3 separate regions of the Homo sapiens genome follow, and all the other regions are linked to region 1. The links are contacts of gene promoters, found by promoter capture Hi-C in human tissues and cell types (Jung and others, 2019). All regions are on one chromosome and are shown on one strand. Each heading gives the region's core, a stretch centred on a gene start or on the middle of the fragment in contact. The rest is flanking DNA. Distances are from core to core; before and after follow the strand shown.

Region 1 (4,335 bases), core at 584-3,083:
ACCTCAACACCTAGGCGTTCACATGAAAACTTCCCACGAGCACGAGGCCTTTCGGAACTTGCCATGGAAAATGAGTGAACGCCTGAGAGATTAATGCCACATTCTTCAGAATTAAGGATAAGAATTAAACGGAAGCTACCGCGCTAGCAGTCAGCTAAGTATGAAGGGATTAGGTTCAGCGGGAGAGGAGACCATCACGGCATCCCGGTCTCATCTCCTTAAGGCTCTCATGAGCCTTAAAAGACGCCTCATCTCCTCGGTCCCCCGGGGAGCGCCCGGTAGCTGCGGCTCCTTCCCGGCACTGCGGCGCACTGCGGAGCCGCCTGCCCGCCAGCCCAGGCCGTGCGGGGCTTTCCTCGCCGCCCCGCGCCGCCGCAGTCCTCCCGCCCCCCTCTGCCCCGCCGGGTCGCCGCTCTCCGCGCCAGGCGCGCCGCGGGGCATCCATCAACCCAGAGCTTTTGACGCACACACGCGCGCTCCCAGACGGAGACTCCGTCGCCTGCCCCCGCCCGCCACCCCCGCCCGCCCCTCGCGGGTCTGCATTTGCATCACTCGCACACGTAGAAGGTGACGCGAGCGCCCCCAGCTCAGGCCGTCCAGGCGGCACCTCTAGCCCCCGTGGCTCAGCCCCTCCCCCCGCCCCCGCGCGCCGCCTAAGGTCCCCGCACGCCCACAGATCTGCTCCCGATTGTTCATCTGCCGTGGGGTGCTGGCTGCCCCAAGCCAAGTTCATCCCCGTATTCCGCAGTCCCCGTGGGCCCAGCCCGGGGCGCTCCCCGCGACGCTCTGGAGAAAAGTCTTCCCAGTTCTAGAACCCAGGCGGAAGGGGAAAAGCCCACTAAGAGAAAGGGTCAGAGGGTCGGCTGATGGCTTTTGCTGCCCTCATCGCCATCTAAGATTACCTCGGTAGCTTATTTACTGCGATTGGTCCCTCTCCCCTCTGAGCTTCACAGCCTCGGGTCTGCTTCGCCTGGCCTGGCGCACAGCAGGCGCCCAAAAGGTTTTTGCTGAATGAAGGCGTTGTAACGTAGGAAGTGCAGGCGCTGACAAAGAGCCTCAGCCCCGCGGGCTCCCCTGCTCTCCAGCCCTCTCTTGCTCTCTCTTAGACGCCAGACAGGCGCTTCGGGAATGTATGTGGGAGAGTTTGAAAATTCATGGTGTTTCTTTCAGGCTCTCTCAGCACTTACTGCGGCTACCTCTGCTCTCCCGCCACCTGCACGTCTGCAGAGGGATCCCCGCCGAAAAGTTGAGCCTAAGGCAGCTATGAAGGTATAGGTCCAGGTACCCAGCCCGGGGCTCTAGGCTGCTAGATTTGAATCTGCCTATCCCTGCCGGTCAAACCACACAAGCAAAAAAGAGCGTGGCGGTCGCTGCAGATGCGGCCCCTGCATCCCCGCTGCTGCCCACCCACCTCCTCTGGGAATCCCAGATAAAGTGCGACCCAGTCCCCAGACCTACCCTAGCGAACCCTGGGGTCACTGCATCTATTTTACCCCTACTTTCCTGGTCCCTCTCCAACAAAGGCGCCTACAAAGCAGCGGGCACCTGCAGCCGCTTCCCCGGGGGCAGGCGGGGCAAAGTTGCGCTTCCGAAAGGCTGCAAAAACTTCCCCAGGCTGCAGCGCCCGGCCACCAGTCGGGAAGAGAAATCCAGCAGCGGGGGAAAGTCTCCCCGCGGATGCCCGCTTCACCTCCCCCACTCACCGCTCCAGCCGTCGGACACCCTTGCCCTGAGTGGTGTCAGCACTGCAGCCGCCTCAGTGCGGGCGCCGCTCCGGCTCGCTTCCCCGGGCTGCCTCCGTCTGCCACTCTCGCCTGCAGCGCGCGGAGTGGTGACTCCTCTGAGCGTGTCAGCGGCGAGAGGAGGGGCGGGAAAGTGGCTCCCGGCTTGCACGCTGCGGTCCTCCTCCTCTCCTCCGCCTGCCTCCTCCCCCTGGTGCTGCAGTGCCGGGCGGCGGCGTGGCGAGAGTACCAGCGGTGCGCAGGGAGTCACGGCGCGCGGGGGAGGCGGGACCCGCGCGCCACTCGCGGTGCTCCGGCAAGTCGCGGTGCTGAGGCGCTGCTGCGGTGTGGGACTGGGGCAGGGGGCGGGGAAGGAGAGCCACCTCCAAGTGGTAGGTACTTCTGGAGAAGTCAGGGCTCTGAGTTTGTAGCAGGTGAAGGAGAGGGGCGGCAGTCCTTAATTAGTCACCAACTGTGACTGTGCGTTGCGCACTTGGCGGCGCCCCGGGTCAGGTCCAGCGTGAGACGCGAGGGAGTTCTGACTGCTGGACTCTGTTAGCACCGGACAAAAAGAGGGTTTGTATTCTATTTCCGGGCCTGGGACTGACTTGTTCACTTCGACTTGGCTTCCAGGGAGCAACCAGGCAGAGCTAGGTTGCCTACTTCCCCCAGCCCCCACCCCGACGCTGGAAGACAAGTCCAGAGGAAACTTGGGCACAGCAAGAGCAAACAGAAGAAAACTTCGCTGGGTTAAGTCTACTGTCTCCCCAATGCTACATAGGGCCAGACAGCTGGGCTCACAGGCAGATATTGAAAGTGGCCCCTTAGAGGGGAAACAACCAAATATGAGGGGGGGGGGGTGGAGAGAGAGATAGAGAGAGAGAGAGGAGGAGGAGGAAGAAAGAAAGAAAGAAAGAAAAAGAGAAAGAAAGAAAGGAGGAGGAGGGAGAAAGAGAGAGGAGAGAAGAGAGAGAGAGAGGGAGAGAGAGAGAGAATTTTGCTTGTGTTGTTAGAAACAAACATTTCTCCCCTTGGCGTGCAGGAGAGAGAATTTTGCTTGTGTTGTCAGAAACAAACATTTCTCCCCTTGGCGTGCAGGAGACCCCAACTCGAGCTTCACTGTTCCAAAGCGGTGGGCCAGGCGGCTGGAGAGAAACTCGCTCCCGTGAGGCCACACCCAGGCCTGGCGCACCCACCCCGCGGCAGCAGTGGAGGGCGTCGCCCTCCCGGGCCTTCCGACGCAGACCCTGCCATCCGGATGCTGCGGGAAGTAGGGCATCCTCACGTCCCTGACTCCTCCGGCTCCGCGCGCTCACGGAACCCAAGTGGAGTGGGAAGCGGTCACACAGGCGTGTGCCGTCCCCGAAATCGTTGCTCCTGTGGTGGTGACCCAAAGCGAGACAAAGCGCCGCGCCAATACGGGCTGCAGTGATTGGAACTCAAACACACACATCTCTCCGCGAATGTGTTCCATCCGTGTAAATATGCCTGGGTGATTGAATGGATGGCTGAATGAACGCTGTGTGGATAGAAATATAAATGTTACATGTATAATACAGGCGCCGGGGAAGGAGAGCTGTCAGGCACCCCCAGGCTGGAGCCTCCTGCCCAGAGGAGCCGGTGGAGACAGGCGGTTCGCCCAGGGCGGTGTTGTTAGCTTGGGCTTTCCAGTTCGATTTGTGCCACTATGCAGGATACTGTGAAGAGAAGAAAATGGAGACAACTCTTGGCCTCTCATTTTCCCTCCTCTCTGGTTCAGACACTCTGGCACTAAAAGTTATGATTCTCATGTGCTGTTGAACCTACACTTCCTTGCTGGTCTGTCTTGTTCCGGTGAGAGGCTTTGCAGTCTGTGACCATGGTGCTATGAGATGGTCAGGCAATATGAAAATTAGTGAACGTGCTCATTTTCATTTCGTGGATTCTTCTTAGTAAAATAATTATTTAAATAGTTAAATAATTTAAATAGTTAAATAATTTAAATAATTATTTAGGCTAAAATTAATGTGCTGCTACTATGACAAGGAAGTGCCTATGAATCCAGCATTGGAAATACAATTGTGAAATTAAAAAATAAATCCTATCTGGATTCCCCGCATGTTATTTATAAAAATTTGAGCTTCCAACTGCAAAATGTGCTGGCAATTCACTGAGTTCTCAAACGGTTACCTTTTTGAGAACCTCCCCTAAACTGTTGCAGAATAATGGATTGTTTCTCCAAGTGATGGAAGTTCAGAAAACCATGAAACAAACTTTAAACGTGATCAACGTTCTTTATGCTATGCTGTATCTTCCTTAAATTATTCTCCTATCTTGTCCGTGGAAGATATTTTTTTAAAGTGGGTTGATTTTTCTACTTCTGGATTTTCGTGTCTTGATGCATTTGAAGGTAACAGCTCCTTTAGGAAAATCCCTGATTGTGATTTTGCCTGAAACATCCCATTTAAGACCAGGTTGCACTGGAAAAGGCTATTTTAACGTTGTGTCTTTGGAGGACATGAAACATTGTGTCATGATGATGTTGTGCCCTGGTTCCTGGACTTGCCCTCTAAAGCAGTTCTGGTTCTAGGGTCCTGCCTGGCACACACCTTGGCCCCAGGCCCCTTGGATCCAG
Region 2 (4,335 bases), core at 1,244-3,743, 240 kb after region 1:
CGCGCCACTGCACTCCACCTGGGCGACGGAGTGCGACTCTGTCACACACACACACACACACACACACACACACACAAAAGTATGCCACTAAATTTAGTAATCATGTGGCTAATGTCTACCAGATAAGGGTTCTCAAATTTCAGGGAAAAGCTATTGGCCAAATGTATTTTGAAATTTTATTCATTCTCTTATTTATGAAAATAATCCCTACAGTTGGATAAAACCATATATCTACTGTTATCCATTTCCATTTCAATGTGCATTATAAAACAATACATCTTTGGAAATAGTGAAGTAGTTTCTCTTCTTGCTCCCACTTCCTATACCTCTTCCCAGACTGTAATAAAGTGCAGAGGCAGTAATAAGCACACAGTGGCTCTTTCTTACTACTCAGCAGCAACTGCTTCACATAGTTATTTCTCTTTCTCTCTAATGTGGCTCTCACCATGTCAGTAAAAATTCTGAGGACTGAAGAAACCTGCTGCCTAGCCCCGCTCATTTCAGTATGTCCTACTGCCATGTAGGACATTGTTATTGACTGTGACCTAGAAAAATGGGTAAGAAAAGTAAGATCAGTGTCAAAAACAACAAATGAATGGGAACTGAATAGGAACTGTCAGAAAGAGTTGGGCATTCTAGAGGCTCCCTGCCTTGTCATGATCTCTCTCCAGGACTATATGAATTTTCTTTTATTGCATTTCTCCTTTTCTCTTCATTGTATTTCTACTCCGTAGATGTTTTGCTTTCTCATAGTTCCTGACTCTTTATAACCTGGACTTACCATGGCCTTGTCTATACTTCATGGTATTTTTTCATCTCTACCCACCACTTCTAACTAAAGTGTTCCTTTGTATTCCTTAGTTCAAATTTTTGAAAAGAGAAAATAATTAACCCAGTTCATCTTTTTGAGCCAGACCATGTTATAGATCACTGCCTAGCCTACGGGATGTGTGACAGTTTTTAAAAGGTACACAAAAATCTTTGACACTTCTCCCATCCAGAGACAGGGTTCATGTCTCCTCCCCTGGAATCTGGACTTTGTGAATACAATAGAAGTGGCAGTGTGCAGATTTCCAGGATTAGGCCTTAAGACACCAGCAGCTTGCTCTTGGAATCCGACCACCGGCTATGAAGAAGCCCAGGCCACACAAAGAGGCCAGGTAGGGGCTGTGGCTGACTGTTCCAGCGGAGGTCCCAGAAAACAGCCAGCATCAACCACCGGACATGTGTGAGTAAAGCTATCTGCAGAGGACAACAGTCCCCAGTCGATCACTCCCAGCCTTTGAGTCTTTCCAGCTGATGCATCAGATATCATGGAGCAGCGACAAGCCATGCTTATTGTGCCTGTCTGAATTCTTGATATACAGCATGTGTGGGCATAATAAAATGCATGCTTTATACCCTAAGTTCTGGGATAGTTTGTTATATAGCAGTAGACAATTGGAAAATATTTTGGTACCATAAGTCAATTACCTATAGCTGCGTCACAAAACTACACACTTCAGTGGTTTAAAACAATGATCTTTTTTTTTTTTTTTTTCCTGTTTCTGGGAGTCAAGGATTTGAGAAGCATTCAGCCAGGTAGTTCTGGTTCAGAGTCTGCCACATAGCTGTAGTCAAAGGCTGGAGCTGGAAGACTATAACTGCTGAAAGAGCTGGGGGCTGGCTAGGCACCTCTCTTTCCTCTGAGGTTTCAAGGGTTCTCGGCTCTCTGCAGGGTCTCTCCATGTACACTACTTTGGGCTTCATCCCAGGATGATGGCCTCAGATGACAGAAATTCTTACATGGTGGCCCAAGGTTCCAACGTGACTGTTCCAGTGAGCCAAGCAAAAGATGCATTGCCTTTTTTGACCTAGCCTTGTAAGTCACGTGGCATCACTTCCACCATACTCTTAGCAGTCAGCTGCTCACTAAACTCAGCTCAGATTCAAGGAGTTGGAGGAGATATATCCACCTTTCAAAGAGAGGAGTGTCAAAGAAATTTGTCAAAGTTTAGTTCTGGGCCAAAGCTCATACCTATTCTAATCAACTATGCCCAAGGCTGGTGGGATCATAGGTGCACCTGTGGCCTCTCTTCTGTTAGGGACTGGAAGCAGGGATAGCTCCCTTAGAAGGAACTACATTGGCCAGTTCAGAGCACTACATCCCTTGCCTGCCCAGAACCCAGGGTCCTTCTTCCTCTTCTTTATGTCCTACACACATCTGCATCCTGTTGACCCCATCTATTGAACATCTCTTAAACTCTCCACTGGCAGTTAATAGATGATTTTTATAGAAAATTTGGAGAACACAAAAAACTACAAGGAGAAAAAAATACCCTTCCTCCCACATACACAGTTCCAGAGCTGCCCACTCCCAACATGGCCTGTCTGACATTTACAACTATAAATATGCTCGTCATCTGCTAATAGAAAGACTTTCCAAAGTCATGACCAGTTATAGCGCCAGGAAAAATGTCAAGGACCACTTCAAAAGCTGCTTGCCTATCTCGGAGTCCAGAGTTTTCTGTGGTGTCTAGCCTATTTCTTTGTTCTCCTTTTTCCGTGCTCCCATTCAGAGCTACTTCTTACCATTTTATGGGCTCAAAATGACCACTGGTAAACATCAAAGCACCCTGAATACTACAAATGAAAAGTAAAGAATATTTATAATAACTATTTTTATTGGCATACAAAGGGAACATAAAATCTATCTTTTCATCCTGAAACTCAAGATTTACATATGTGTGATCAAGCAGTATTTACAAATTTGTAGTCTGCATTTTTCCCTTGTATTATAATTTTTGTTGTCATTATAATCTTTAAAATCATGAAAAGAAAATGTAAAGTGAAATATCTAATAGCTAAAGCAATATGTTCATTTTTCCTCATCACTTTACTATTAATAAAAAAATTATTTTTTAAGTTGAATTACCCAAATAAATTAACCCAATTATAACTTTACTAATCACTTCTTTTATTTCATTTTTCTCAATTAAAATAGAATTATTAATTAAAATAAATTTATGGGTAAGCTTGCTGGACTCAGTATAATTGTTTTTTCCTTGTTACCTTCTAAAATCCCACTAAAATAAAAGGAAAAGGAATTTAAAACTATAAATCCACAAAAAAGAGAAATAATGACAGCATATGAGAGATGTCAACAAAATCTAGAAACTGAAAAGCAATAAATGAGAAGTGGCCTCATAGACCAAAGAGAGATGAAGCTTGAGTCTATAATAGGATATCTAATAAGAAGTAAGCTAATTATACGCCAAACAGTTAAGAAGTTACAGAACCTTGAGAATTCTCAAGAATTGAATAAACTAGATATCACTGAGTCCAACAGTTTAAGCTGGTCTGAAAGCAAAAGGACTGTGACAATCTTTATAAGGAATAGATAGGACACCACTGAACTCCACCAGCCCATTCAGTCAGAGCATGAAGAACAACAGGTGCCTGAATACAGATGAATCTGGAGAGCATGATGCTAAATCAGGCACAGAATGACAAATACCACATGATTTCACTTATAGGAATCTAAAAAGTTGAGCTCATAGAAGCAGAGTAGAGCAGTAGTTACGAGGGGCTGGGAGTGTGGAGAGATAAGGGTTTAGAGAGATGTTGTTCAAAGAATATAAAATTTCAGTTAGGAAGAATGAGTTCAAGAGCTCTACTGTACAACATTGTGACTATAATAAATAACAATATATTGTATACTTGATTACTAATTTTAAGCAGATTTCAAGTGTTCTCATTGCACACAAAAATGCATATGAGAAATGCACATGTCAATTATCTAAATTTAGCCATTCCACAATGTACATGTATTTCAAAACACACTGTATACATAAATATATATCTTTATTTGTTAATTAAAAATTAATAATAATAATAATATTATATTGGTAGGCCTAGTCAGTATAAATATAAGAAAAATAAATTTAAGGCATTAGACTAGGAGCAAAAATCAGTGAGATAATAAAGCATTACCTTCATAAAAACAGAAGTCAATTAAAAAAGGGACATTTCGAGAAAAGAAGTTTTTAAAATTAAAGTACGGATATATACTTTTTAAATGAAATCCCACAATTAGAAGATAAAGTTAAGGAAATCTAGAAAGTAAAAGCAAAAAAGACAAAGAGATGGAAAATAGTGGTAGGAAAAAAAGAAAGTTAGAGGAAGTTCAGCATCCAGTTTAATTATTAAGAGTTCCAGGAAAAGAAAACAGAAGAAATGGGCAAGAGAATATCTTCAAAAAATAGCACGCACGTAAAAACATCCCAGACCTGAAGGACATGAGCGCCAGTTTGAAAAGGTCCACACAGTACACAGCAAAATGAATAAAAATGACTC
Region 3 (4,335 bases), core at 743-3,242, 130 kb before region 1:
GCATTCAAAGAAATGGCCATGCACTTAAACACATGATAATTTTTTTAAAATTTCACATCTACTTTTTAAGCCCTTAAAGACTATATCATCAATGTTTATTTGACTGATGCATCTTATTATTGCATGGGGAAAAGTGAACCATCACTGAAGGAAATCGGAAGCCAAGGGTTCTTTCGTTGAGATAAAATATAAGATTGATCGTAAAATTAACAAATTAAATTAACAAATTAAGAAATAATACTGGTATAAGTCAATGTACCAAATCACTTCCCTCTGTCACGTCTTACTCTGCCTCTTGAGCATAAAATCATCAGGGCTGTAACACTCAGTGAAATATGGCAAGGATGAGAGGACAGGGCTCTGGGCCACCTGTCACCTGCCTGTCCTGGCTGGGCTGCTGAGAGGAACCCCAGTTATCATGTGAGGCCTGCCCTGACACCCTAGAGTAGTGGGCACAGGACACTTTGGCATGCCTTACAAGTTCTGTTCCTGTACTTCTAATCTTTCTTATCCATCTCCACAACTTCAAATGACAGGTGAACCATTGAGAAAACATGGTTAGGAAAAGGTAAATACAATCTTTTAAATATTCCTCTTTTTAATTCTTCCTCCCTGACCCAAACTTCAGTCCCAAATATGAAAATACGAGACTACACTTAATGAACATTTGTGCCAGGCACTGTGTCAGGCACTTTTTGTATGCCATCCTTTAATACAGCAATTGTATTATTTTATTTTATTTTACTTTGAGTTCTGGGATATGTGTGTGGAATGTACAGGTTTGTTATATAGTTATACATATGCCATGGTGATTTGCTGCACCTATCAACCCATCATCTAGGTTTAAAGCCCCACATGCATTAGGTCCTAATGCTCTCCCTCCCCTTGCCTCCCTCAACCAACAGGCCTTGGTGTATGATGTTCCCCTCCCTGTGTCCATGTGTTCTCATTGTTCAACTCCCACTTATGAGTGAGAACATGTGGTATTTGGTTTTCTGTTCCTGTGTTAGTATGCTGAGAATGATGGTTTCTAGCTTCATCCATGCCCCTGCAAAGGACATGAGCTCATTATTTTTTATGGCTGCATAGTATTCCATGTTGTATATATGCCACATTTTCTTTATCTAGTCTACCATTGATGGGCATTTGGGTGTGTTCCAAGTCTTTGCTATTATAAATAGTGCTGCAATAAACATACATGTGCATGTGTCTTTATGGTAGAATGATTTATAATCCTTTGGGTATATACCCAGTAATGTGATCGTACAGCAATTGTATTAGGTCATACTATTATTATCCCTGTTTTATAGATGAGGAAACAGAGGACCAGAGAGCCTAGGTTACTGTCCTAAAGATGACAAAGCTAGAGAGGGCAGAGGTGGCTTGGAAGTAGGGCCTTCCCTCTAAGCCCATGCTGTTAACAATTGCACTGACTGCCTGTCTCCAGGATCTCTGACATCTTGGTGCTGCGATAGAGCTTGGCTCTGGTGCTGCCCATATAACCCGCAGAATCAGCTGGTAGTTGATGCTCACAGGTTAGAGTTGTCAGACTCTCGTTATTTCTATCTGGGAACGATAGCACCATGGCCTTGAAAATGGGTCTTTATATAGTACATGCCCCTTGAATATTAAATTACCCAACAGAAAAATGGAGGATTCTGATTTATTGGGTAAAAAGTCATCAAGATTTTACAGTATTGTTTTAATACCTTGGTTCTCTTTTATCTTAGCTTCTATCCTTTTTTTTTTCTTTTCTCTGACTTCTCTAATCTCAAACTTTAGGCAGGGTTTATGCTTTTTAGTTCCTTCTCCCTCTTTTTTCATGTAGCTCACATTTGGGCTGCTCTGGCAATCTGGGTATCCCATGTAGGATGACCTGATAGCAACAAGAGCTACCATTTTTGAGCATCAAATACACACTGGGTATTCTAACGAGATTATTTTGCTTAATCCTTACTACAATGCTGACTAGGAGAGTGGGCTGGATCAGACTGAAAAGCTTTGACAGAGCTCACAGAAGTAGCAGGTCTGAGACTCAAAATACCTCTCACTTTATACCTCTTTCCCTTGGCCACAGTGCATTCCTTCTTGTGAACAAGGAAGCTGACTTTCTTCTTCCTTCTTGTTGAATATCTGTCTGGTTGAGGAATCAGGAATCCTTCCCTGCTTCCTTCTTCAATTAGATAGCTATTGCCTCTCCTGCCAGCCAAAGGAAGTAGGGATGTTTTGGTAATTTGGACAACCTTGGGAATATATGTATTTTTAAGCCTGGACATCGCATCATGGCTGGAGACGTAGGGTGGGGTAAGTCTGACGTTTATGGGAGCCCCAAGTTTGACCCTATAACATCTGCAGTGCAGGGCTAGCCAGATAGAGGCCATGGGGCTATTCTGGGGGCTAGATGAGGCCCAGTGTGCTGTGGGCTTTCAGAGCTGTGGCCTTTCGGGCTAAAACAAGAACTTTCCCATTTAGCTAATTGAACACCTTTGCTACACACTGTAATGCACACAGCAGGGGAGAACACCTCATCTGATGCGCACATGAATTTAAAAGGGAAAATGATGACAGAGGGTTTAATGGAGCGGACAGTGCCGCAGTCTAGCAGCAATTCCAAAGCCTGGGCCTAATGAAAGCTCTCAGCCAACATAGAAAGTGCCTGTGATTCAGCTCTCTGTTCCCATTTCCCCTGAGGTACTGGGGCTTCCATTAAATGCTGATGTGTCCTGATTATTACAGAGTGTGGAGAGAGAAAGGAAGGGCAGGAAGGCTGAAAGAGAACCTTTACACCTGACCTATCTGTTCTTGAAGATACTGCTTATTTATTTCTGAACCAGTAGCCAATTCCCACTATGGGTCAGAAGGCCTAGGCTTGAGAACGGGTGTTAGGTCAAGAAGAGCCAAATTTTCTCGAACTCCTGGCTTTAGGCAATTCTCCTGCCTCAGCCTCCCAAAGCACTGGGTTTACAGGTGTGAGGCACTGCACCCGGCCAAGCCAACTCTAAATACCTATTTTCAGCTCTTACAGGCACTGATTTTTGAGGCAAGGGCATTTCCTTCTCAGTTTGTTGCTCTTCCTCCTCCCTTGTTCTAGTGGACTGCTCTTTGCCATGGGGGAGACACAGATGGCCCAGAAGTTCCTGAATGGAGTGGTGGCAGGGAAGGTGCTGGTGTGACCACAGCCAAGCACTCTGCCTCCTAAGGTCTTGTCAGCATTGGGTGAGGTCCATTCATGTTGGGAACCTTCAGATGTTAGCAACCATCTGTCTCCGGGGAAAATTTCAACTCTGATAGCAGTGATATGAAGAGAAAGCACCATCATTATTCCACACTGGTACAAAAGCTAGGTCTCAGCAGGCTGAGTGGACTCCACTGTCCACCAAAAACTCCTGGCCACAGCCCATGTCTTAACTCACTAGCCCTTAGAGCAATCCAATCCCTTATTCCAGTGTCTAACTTCACAAGAATCCTTCCAGATTTCCTTCCAGAATCCTTAGTGACCCACTCAAGGTCTACTTTGCATCAGAGGCTTGTCAGGGGCCAGAATTCCAGTCTCACAGCATCAGGCTCAGGCTTTGTGAACTGACTGCTCTGCCCTAATTACTAAACGGCGACACCCAGAAACAGCGAACACCTTTGTCCACGAGCCTCTGTGTTATTTATCATTTGAAATACACTTGCAATGTGGATGCCAATTATCCATTCCTTCTCTCCAGAGCAAAGCCCATTACTAATATGAGAAGGCTGAGGTCCTGGCTCTGAGTCACTTTATTACACTCCTGTGTTCATTCTCTGCAGGGTGCAAACTCAATGCACAGGGAGTGGTGGGCACTCAAAGGCCTCCTCAGTGAAAGAGGACAGAGCAGCAGGGGCGGACCCGCTCTTGTTTCTGTGGACTGTGGCATCATTTATACAACGCAGATTTCAGAGGAGAGATATAAGCCTTTAGTTTTTTCAGAGGCTTCAGGGAAAGTGGATAGACTTTTAGCCCCTTGTCTATTTTAGGTAAAGTTAAAAGATGCATCACTGAAAAGAAGAGATATCTAGATGTCAAAGTTACTTTTTAAGTGTGATTCTAAACCAGATGGACAGGAAAGTGTTTTTGCGTGGATGAAACCAACAATACGGAAACTCAAACACTGAACAGATCAGGCTCACTGTTCTCCTTATTCTCATTCACATCCCCCCACTCCCACCCAATACATACCATCAAGTTCTAGGGTCCCAGCAGAAAAACAAACTTCTGAGGTCACCCATTGGGCCTTTCATGGACAGGAAGCTGAAGAATCTCAAACCTGGCTGCACATTAGAACCACCCAGAAGCTTTAAAAACTATTG

Evidence for each region. Contacts are between HindIII fragments. The study calls those that stand out against the background at their distance.
Region 2: a contact is called between a fragment that was not itself captured here and the fragment with the promoter of SV2C in region 1, in 1 of the 25 tissues and cell types used here (H1 embryonic stem cells).
Region 3: a contact is called between a fragment that was not itself captured here and the fragment with the promoter of SV2C in region 1, in 2 of the 25 tissues and cell types used here (H1 embryonic stem cells and thymus).

Annotation. Positions count from the first base shown.
Region 1 is chr5:76,080,881-76,085,215 of GRCh38, reverse strand. SV2C (synaptic vesicle glycoprotein 2C) reads right to left here and starts at 1,833. Exons shown (of 13, transcript NM_014979.4): 1 at 1,704-1,833. SV2C-AS1 (SV2C antisense RNA 1) reads left to right here and starts at 1,799. Exons shown (of 2, transcript NR_183290.1): 1 at 1,799-2,297; 2 at 2,820-3,810. RefSeq lists an enhancer at 2,469-3,022. The HindIII fragment of the contact is 16,764 bases long and covers 1-4,335 here.
Region 2 is chr5:75,841,633-75,845,967 of GRCh38, reverse strand. No RefSeq gene overlaps it. Among named protein-coding and RNA genes, the nearest start is that of POC5, 130 kb to the right of the region's middle. The HindIII fragment of the contact is 5,307 bases long and covers 1-4,335 here.
Region 3 is chr5:76,215,169-76,219,503 of GRCh38, reverse strand. All of the region lies in intron 4 of SV2C (synaptic vesicle glycoprotein 2C), which reads right to left. Among named protein-coding and RNA genes, the nearest start is that of SV2C-AS2, 94 kb to the left of the region's middle. The HindIII fragment of the contact is 7,655 bases long and covers 1-4,335 here.